Regions from separate parts of the Homo sapiens genome. Here region 1 is linked to region 2. Evidence: promoter capture Hi-C in 16 types of primary human blood cells and fetal thymus (Javierre and others, 2016). All regions are on one chromosome and are shown on one strand. Each heading gives the region's core, a stretch centred on a gene start or on the middle of the fragment in contact. The rest is flanking DNA. Distances are from core to core; before and after follow the strand shown.

What was found. Contacts are between HindIII fragments. The CHiCAGO score rates a contact against its expected background, and 5 or more counts as called.
Region 1: a contact is called between a fragment that was not itself captured here and the fragment with the promoter of APOBEC3H in region 2, in 1 of 17 cell types (erythroblasts). The highest score is 5.4, in erythroblasts.

The regions. Positions count from the first base shown.
Region 1 is chr22:38,814,152-38,818,361 of GRCh38, forward strand. No RefSeq gene overlaps it. Among named protein-coding and RNA genes, the nearest start is that of DNAL4, 22 kb to the left of the region's middle. The HindIII fragment of the contact is 3,873 bases long and covers 1-3,536 here.
Region 2 is chr22:39,094,594-39,099,075 of GRCh38, forward strand. APOBEC3H (apolipoprotein B mRNA editing enzyme catalytic subunit 3H) reads left to right here and starts at 2,651. Exons shown (of 5, transcript NM_181773.5): 1 at 2,651-2,750. RefSeq lists enhancers at 1,773-2,972, 2,295-3,182, 2,513-2,852, 3,183-4,069. The HindIII fragment of the contact is 11,404 bases long and covers 306-4,482 here.

The DNA.
Region 1 (4,210 bases), core at 350-2,849, 280 kb before region 2:
ATCCACCTGCCTTGGCCTTCCAAAGTGCTGGGATTACAGGCGTGAGCCACCATGCCCGGGCTGCTTTGGAGTTTTACAGAGGGGAGTGACAATATTTTGATTGCAACATGATCATTGTAGGTGTCATAAGGAGAACTAATTCTTTTTTTAAGAGTCCCACTCTGTGACTCAGGCTGGAGTATAGTGGAACAATCAGGGCTCACTGTAGCCTCTATCTCCCAGACTCAAGTGATCCTCCCGCCTCAGCCTCCAGAGTAGCTAGAACTACAGGTGTGCACCACCACGCCCAGCTAATTAAAAAAAAAAAAAAATTTTGTGGAGACAGGATCTCATTCTGTTGCCTAGGCTGGTCTTGAATTCCTCGGCTCAAGCAATCCTCCTGCCCGACCTCCCAAAGTGTTGGGATTACAGGGGTGAGTTACTATTGCACCCGGCCAGAGAATGGATTTTAAGAGAGGAAACTGCATTTTTAAGAGACAATGGTGGCTTGGAACAGAGTGGTAGCAGAGTGGAAAGGAGTGAACGTGGGTTGAGATATGGGTTAGTAGTTGAGTCAATGGGCGATGGATTGAATAGATGGGCAATAGAAAGAGAGAAGTCAATGAGCAACCGGAATTGAGCCTATTTATTTGAGCCTATTTATTGAGAAGGGGGTGAGTGGGGTAGGGAGAGGAAGATCAAGTGCTTAGTTTTGGATACCTACATTTTGAGACTCCTATTGGGTAACCTGGATATGCAAATGTGGAGTTCAGGGAAAAATCTAGGAGGGAGTCAAAGCCATGGGCTTGGATGAGATTTCCTAGGGAGAGCATCTAGGTAGAAAGAATAAAGAGACCCAGAACTGCGCCCTGGGGTAGTGCAGCATTTAGGGACCAGGGAGATGAGGAGGCACCAGAAGGAGTCCTAGTAGGAACCGCCAGTGAAATAGAGCAGTAGTTCTCAAAGTGTGGTCCCAGGACCAGCAGCCATAGCATCATCTGGCGCTTGTTAGAGAAGCAGACGATTGGGCCCCACCCCAGATCTACTGCCTCAGAACCTCCAGGGTGGAGCCCAGAGGTCAGCGACCAGTGCTTTAACTCGCTCCAGGCGATTGTAATGCAGGCTACAATTTGAGAACCACTGAGGTGAAAGACAAACCAGGAGAGGGTGTGTTTTGGAAGGCAAGAGGATACATTTTTCAAGAAGGAAGGAGTATGTTAGATGCAGCTGAGAGTGTGGCTAAGACAATGGCAGAGGCCTGGCCATTGGATTTTGTAACGTGGACGTTATTGTTGGCCTGGACAGGTAAGACTTCGGTGGAGTGGGGGTGTGGGGGGAACAGCAGCCTCATGGGAACTGGACAAGATGTGAATGAAAGTGGGATGAAGTGGCATCAAAACTGTAGACCTGGCTGACTGTGGTGGCTCACGCCTGTAATCCCAGTACTTTGGGAGGCCAAGGCAGGAGGATTATTTTGAGCTCAGGAGTTTGAGACCAGCCTGGCCAACATGGCGAAACCCCGTCTCTACTAAAAATATAAAAATTAGCCGGGTGTGGTGGCACATGCCTGTAATCCCAGCTCCTCGGGAGACTGAGGCAGGAGAATCGCTTGAACCCGGGAGGCAGAGGTTGCAGTGGGCCAAGATGGTGCCACTGCACTCCAGTCTGGGTGACAAAGTGAGACTCCATCTCAAAAACAAAAACAAAACACCCAAAACCCCCAAAAAACTGTAGACCCACTGTCTAGCAAAGGGTTAACTCAGCAGGCTTGGGCTGATGGAACCCTGTGCATTCCAAAGAAAGGACTGGGCCTGGAGCAGCTCCCCAGCAGGTAACTTCTAAACCCTTGGAAGGTCCTGCCTGATGAGACTATCTTTGTTTACCTTGGGCCATGCCAGATAATTTATGCTGACAAAGTCTTTTATGCCAAATGCCCTTGGTCACACTGTATCAGTTTGACCTCTGGAGAGGGTCCTGAGACTGAGTAGTTAAGGTCAGTCATACGGGTGCTCCATTACATAACCATCCCCCAGTATAGACCCTGGACACCAAGACTGGGGTGAGCTTCCCTGATGGACAAGTCTCTTGTGTGTGTGTCACACATCATTGCTGAGAGAATGAAGTGCTCTCCGTAGGACTTTGGGAAAGAACAACTGGAATCCTGCTCCTGGTCTGTCCTGGATTCCACCCTATATGCCTTTCTCCTTGGCTAATTTGCATCTGTATCTTTTCAATGTAATAAACCGTAACCATGAGTTTAGCAGCTTTTCTGAGTTCTGTGAGTCTTTCCAGTGAATCATCAAACCTGTGGGTGGTCTTGGGGACCCCTGATACTCCTGATTTTTCAAGAGGTTTTGCAGTGAAAGGAGAAAAGGAATGAGTGACAGCTGCAGGAGGTATTGGCCCAAGATGGGGATTCTGTGTAAGAGAGGAGATACTGGGGCAGACGTGGAGGCCCATTGAAATGACAAAGTAGATAAGGATAGGTTGGTAATGCAGGAGAAATGTTATTGAGAAGATAAAGTGGAAGGGGATCCATTACACAGCGCCTCTGATAGGAACAGTGACAGTTTATTCAGAGTAACCAGGGGAAGCCAGAAAATCTGGGTACAGTGCGGGTTTGCAGGCAGACTTGGTGGTGGGGTGATGGGGGAACACTGAACTAATGGTTTTCTCAATGAACTAGGAGGTGAGGCCACCCTTGAGTGTGCAGAGCTGGGAGTGGAGGGCTGTAGATTTGAGGAGAGAGGGAATATGATGTAGTCACTTTGGAGAGTAAGACCCCAAACAAGGAATGTGTACTAAGATTGCAGGGCAGGGTTGGAGATCTCTGGCCAAGGACTGAAAATGAGAGTCAGGCTGGGCGCGGTGGCTCACATCTGTAATCCCAGCACTTTAGGAGGCTGAGGCAGGTGGATCATTTGAGGTCAGGAGTTTGAGACCAGCCTGACTAACATGGTGAAACCCTATCTCTACTAAAAAAAAAAAAAATTAGCTGGGCATGGTGGCATGTGCCTGTAGTCCCAGCTATTCGGGAGGCTGAGGCAGGAGAAACTTGAACGTGGGAGGCGGAAGTTGTAGTGAGCCGAGATTGTGCCACTGCACTCCAGCCTGGGAGATGGAGTAAGACTCCATATCAAAAATAAATAAATAAATAGAAAAGAAAATGAGAGTCAACACACATCAAAATCCGTGCTTTTTCACATCCGCATTCAATTGTGCAGGTGCTGGCACGAAGCAGGTGGACAGCAGGATTTCACCAGGGTTGGACCTTGCCAGCTGAGTGAGACAGAGGGAGATGGGGTGTTTGCAAGTAAACTGGTGCAAAAGAGGATAAACAAGGCATAGCTGCCTGTAGCTTAATTTTGCTCAGTGGTAATTCAAATATTTTTATCTTAAAACAAATCTGGATTCATTCTGGAGTAGAATGAAAAAAGCGCATGAATTTGTCAGATAACAGACTTCAAATGCAGTTTCTCTGTTTTGAAGTGCCACTTCCAGGGATACCTACCCCCTGGTCCTCATGTGGTGACGCTACTCTTGTTGGAAGTTTGGGAAGCTTTGGAAAAGTCTGGAAAGCCCTGTCCTGCCGGTGTGATCCCCTGATCCCTGGCTAGCACCCTGACTTTTCACAGGGATCATCTGAGGAAGACATCCAACCAAGAACAGTGACAGTATTGAGAGAGTAGGAGGATGAAGGCTTTGTGCCCCTAAGATGGTGTGTGCAGGGAGGGCTGGGGACTAATCAAGAACCTCTTAAGGATGGGGCAGGTGCTGCAGGGGTGGGGTGGGGTAGCTGACCCTGATGCTGGTCTTAGAGTCCAGTCTAGAGGCCAAACATATCAGAGGAGTCTGGGTAGTGTGGGGAAGGGAGCGGCTGAAATACAACAACCAGGGCCCCTCACCCCGGCACCCCTCCCTAGGACTCCAAGAGATGAAACACTCTGGGGGTCCAGGCAAGTGACTGGGACAGACTAGGTCCCAGGAAACAAGTCAGGGACCCGGATCCCTGAACTAGAGCACAAGATGTGGACGGGGTATTGGGAATGAGGCCGAAGCCCAGTTATCAGAACTGGGACACGTTCCATGTGGGACTTGGGTTCTTTACATCCTTCCTGCATAAATCCTGGGAAATGGGGTGTGTCTAAGCCTGGAACAGGGAGAACTTGTCAGCTGGGGGGCATATTTAGGAGCGTGTGTGGCCCTGGGGCTGTCCAGGATCAGGCGTCTC
Region 2 (4,482 bases), core at 1,401-3,900:
GGGAGATTTAGGCCGGGCGTGGTGGCTCACACCTGTAATCCCAACACTTTGGGAGGCTGAGGTGGGCAGATCAGGAGTCAGAAGTTTGAAACCAGCCTGGCCAATATGATGAAATCCCCTCTCTACTAAAAATACAGAAATTAGCTGGGTGTGGCACTGCACACCTGTGAACCCAGCTACTCGGGAGTCTGAGGCAGGAGAATTTCTTAAACCTGGGAGGCAGAGGTTGAAGTGAGCCGAGATCGCACCATTGCACCACATCCTGGGTGACAGAGCGAGACTCCATCTCAAAAAAAAAAAAAAGAAGCTTAAAACAAAGACGGGACGTTCTTCCTTCTGCCTTCTGAGGCCTCCCTAGTCTGTAGTGCCGGAGCTTCTAATAAATGATCACAACTTCACCGCACCCTGTGGCTCAGCTTGAGTTCTTTCCTGTGAGAGATCCAAGAACCCATTCTTGGGGTCTGGATCGGGTCCCCCTTTGCAGCAACGAACACAGGCCAGAGTGGCCAGCCTAACCTCCCGTCCTCCTGGAGATAACACCTAAGCACAGGCCCGTCCTAGACACCACAGGGTCTCTGCTGCAGGAATTCACTGGAGGAGTAGTGGGAATGCTGCCTGTGGGAAGGACCAGGAAAGGGTTCCGCCTTCCTTTCCATCCTCCCTGCTTCTCAGCCTGGGAGACTCAGCTCTGTGATTAACCAGCACTACAGTGTGCAGATCTGATGTCTCTCCTGGCAGGACCCCGCTCATTCTGGAATCTTCCATGGACTGTAGCCCCAACATTTAGGACAGATAGGGTGGAGGGGATGCCATTCCCAGGAACCTTCTAAATTCTCACCCAAGCTCCTGTGACCCCAGGGGCCATGCAGGGTCTAGAGGGCTGTCAGGGTGTGCAGGGCGGGAGGATATGGAGGGACAAGCTGGGCAAGGTTCAATGGGACTCCTTGGTGTGGAACCTAGACTCCGCAGTGACTGCCCCTAGTCCTCGCCCTTGGGATTCAACTTTCCTAGGGGTTCTTTGGTTTTTCTTTTTCTTTTCTTTTAGACAGAGTCCCGTTCTTGTCGACCAGGCTAGAGTGCAGTGGCACAATCTCGGCTCGCTGCAACCTCTGCCTCCCAGGTTCGAATGATTCCCCTGCTTCAGACTCCTGAGTAGCTGGGATTACAGATGCCCGCCACCACGCCTGGCTAATTTTTGTATTTTTAGTAGAGACGAGGTTTCACCGTGTTGCCCAGGCTGGTCTCGAACTCCTGACCTCAGGTCATCAGCCTGCCTGAGCCTCCCGAAGTGCTGGGATTACAGGCGTGAGCCACAGCACCTGGCCTGGCTCTTTGGTGTTTATGATCTGAAGGGTGTTGGTTGATATGCATGAAGACGAGGACATGGGTTCCAGAATGCAAATGTGAAGTCCAGGTCCTTCATCTCTGACCTGGGAGGCCCTTTAGGAGCAGTAAGTCCCCTCCCTCGTGTCTCCTCTCCTGCTCCTTTCCATGGAGCAATGAAGAACCTCAAAGTAGCTAGCTGTGGGGGAGAAGGGACACAGGAAGTCCTGGCCAGCACTCCAGCTCTGCTGTTGATTTGCTGTGTGACGTGGGGACAGTATCTTAGCCTCTCTGTGCTTGGGACCTCCTCTGACTGTCAGGATCACTGCCCTCCCCTCCCAGTGCTATCTGGGGACTGGGCTAGATAATGGGCACTGGATCCGCTGGAGATGCAGTCCTGAGCCTGACCCCAGTGCTCATTTCACATCAGGCTCAGGGTCCTGCCAGGAGGCTGAATGCCAAAGGTCAGTGGGGTGGTGGGGAGGGGGCTGCAGCCTGCCCTGTCCACCAGGGGAGTGGCATCTGGTCTATGGTGTCAGCCCTGGTCTGGATCCCTGCTCCTTTCTGTGGCTTCTATTCCTTTCATTTATTTTAGTTTAGTTTAGTTTTTGAGACGGAGTTTTGTTCTTATTGCCCAGGCTGGAGTGCGGTTGGCCAGGTTGATTTTGAACTCCTGACTTCAGGCAATCCACCTGCCTCAGCCTCCCAAAGTGCTGGGATAACAGGCACCGTGACCAGCCATCAATTCCTTTCTTTTTTCTTTCTTTTTTATTTTTATTTATTTATTTATTTTTTGAGACAGGGTCTCGTTCTGTTGCCAGGGTGGAGTGCAGTGGTGCGACGTCGGCTCACTGCAACCTCTGCCTCCAAGGTTCAAGCAATTTCCCTGCCTCAGCCTCCCAAGCAGCTGGAACTACAGGCGCAGGCCACCAAACCTGGCTAATTTTTTGTATTTTAGCAGAGACGGGGTTTCACCATGTTGGCCAGGATGGTCTTCATCTCCTTACCTTGTAATTTGCCCACCTCAGCCTCCCAAAGTGTTCGGATTACAGGTGTGAGCCACCGCATCTGGCCTTTGTTCTTTTGTAAACTATACCTGGGGAGGGAGTTGAGTCTGGCTGTACCTGGAGAGGGAATTGGGGGTGGGAGGATGGGAGGTGAGCCACCTCCATCAGACTTCCCCTGCCAAGCCCGAGGAAATAGAGAAAGAAAGGAGCCTGAGGGATCTGAAGCACCCCAGGGCCCTCCCACTCCAGTCCCACAAAAGGAAGAGGGTGGAGCCACCCTCATCAAGCAGTGACTTTTTGTGACTTTTGGGAGAGCTGACCTTTTGTGACTTTTGGGAGAGCTGCCAAAAGTGAAACTTAGTGCCTCAGACAAGCAGGGGCAAGTCTGCTAAGGAAGCTGTGGCCAGAAGCACAGATCAGGTACTGCCGCCCACTCTGTCCACTGGGCCCTCTGCTGCCACTTCCTGCCTGGCAGCCCTTCTGTGCCTCAGCCCTGGCCTCCCGCTGCCCCAGCCCCAGCCCTGGGCTCCTTCTCCTCTGGCTCCCCTGCCATCCCCACTCCCACCCAGGCTCTTTGCCCTGCTGTGTGGTCACCCCACTGCTGCTTCTGAACGGGCCGCCTCCCCGGCCTGCACCAGCCCAAGACCCCTGCTGAGACTCTCCCCTAAGAGTCATGGCTGGGCTAGTGCTCCCCACCTTGGGAGGGTGCTCTCTCTGTGTGCTTCCTGCCATTCCTGGGCTCTGGAACTGGGAGAACTGAACTAAAGGATGATGGGAGCAATCTGGAATTTTGTTCACAGTGCTTTGATGAACTTTGTGTAAGATTACTTTGTTTCAATACAAAGTCTTAGGAGAGGGTGTGGGGAGGCAATGATCTCTGAAGCACAAGGCAAATCATCTCTTCCAAGGATGTCTCCACTGTGGGCAGAGGAGGATGCAGATGACCCTGAACACACACTCCTCCTCCATGATCAGTATTCACATTCACCGTTTATAATGACACCAGTAACACGGAATATACGGAAAAACTCAATGATCAGGAGAAATGCTTTTATTTTAAAATTTAGGAAGAAGAGAGCCTGGTTCCCAAAGGCTCCCTCCTGCAGGGCCCGTGATGCAGAGGCTGGCAGGGCTGGCCAGGAAAGTGGCCCAGCTCCATGGCCTGGGCAGGTTACCCCACCTCTCTGCACCTCTGGCCCCTCCTCTGTAAGATGAGAATGGCCCCTGCAGGCCTAGGGCAGCCTCACGTGAGCTCAGATCCTCTCAGCACTTAGAAGAGTGGCCTGGGCCTGGGGATGGAAGTGCTACCCTGATTTTTTGTTTCGTTTTGTTTTTTTGAGAAGGGGTGTCTCAGTCTGTTGCCCAGGCTGGAGCGCAATCTCGGCTCACTACAAGCTCCACCTCCTGGGTTCACGCCATTTTCCTGCCTGGCCAGGCAAAATGGCTCATGCCTGTAATCCCAACACTTTGGGAAGCTGAGAGGGGAGGATCATCACTAAAGGCCAGGAGTTCCAAACCAGCCTGGGCAACACAGGGAGACCCCCTTATCTACTAAAACTAAAAAAATAAAATAAAATAACATGAATAGGTAAAATGCCAGGAATTAATTGAACTGAAATATTAAGAGCTCTTATTTTGAAGGGGAGAATTTTATTCACTTTTCTTATTTTTAATGGGTTAGAGGATGGGTGGCAGAAATACTGGGAGGATGGGAGATCCATCCCTGGAAAGACCAGAGCTAGGGCCCTGAGCTGGGAGAGGTCACCCCGGCCCTGCTGCCCCTGCCAGCATCTCCTTCTCTTCTCCTCTCCCTGGTCTTCCTGCTTGGGAAAGCTGCAGAAATTCTCAGGACTTGGAGGCTTGAAATGCTCAGGGGTTTTCCAGAAAGCAGAATAGAAAGTAGATGGGCAACCATCAATCAGACAGGCCAAAGAAAAGGAGCTCAGGCCCTCGGGGAGACAGGAGGTGAGCGCATGGGTCACAATCCTGGCGGGGCGCGGTGGCTCACGCCTATAATCCCAGCACTTTGGGAGGCCGAGGTGGGTGGATCACCTGAGGTCAAAGGAGTTCAAGACCAGCCTGGCCAACATGGTAAAACTCCATCTCTACAAAAATACAAAAATTAGCCGGGCATGAAGGAGGGCGCTTGTAA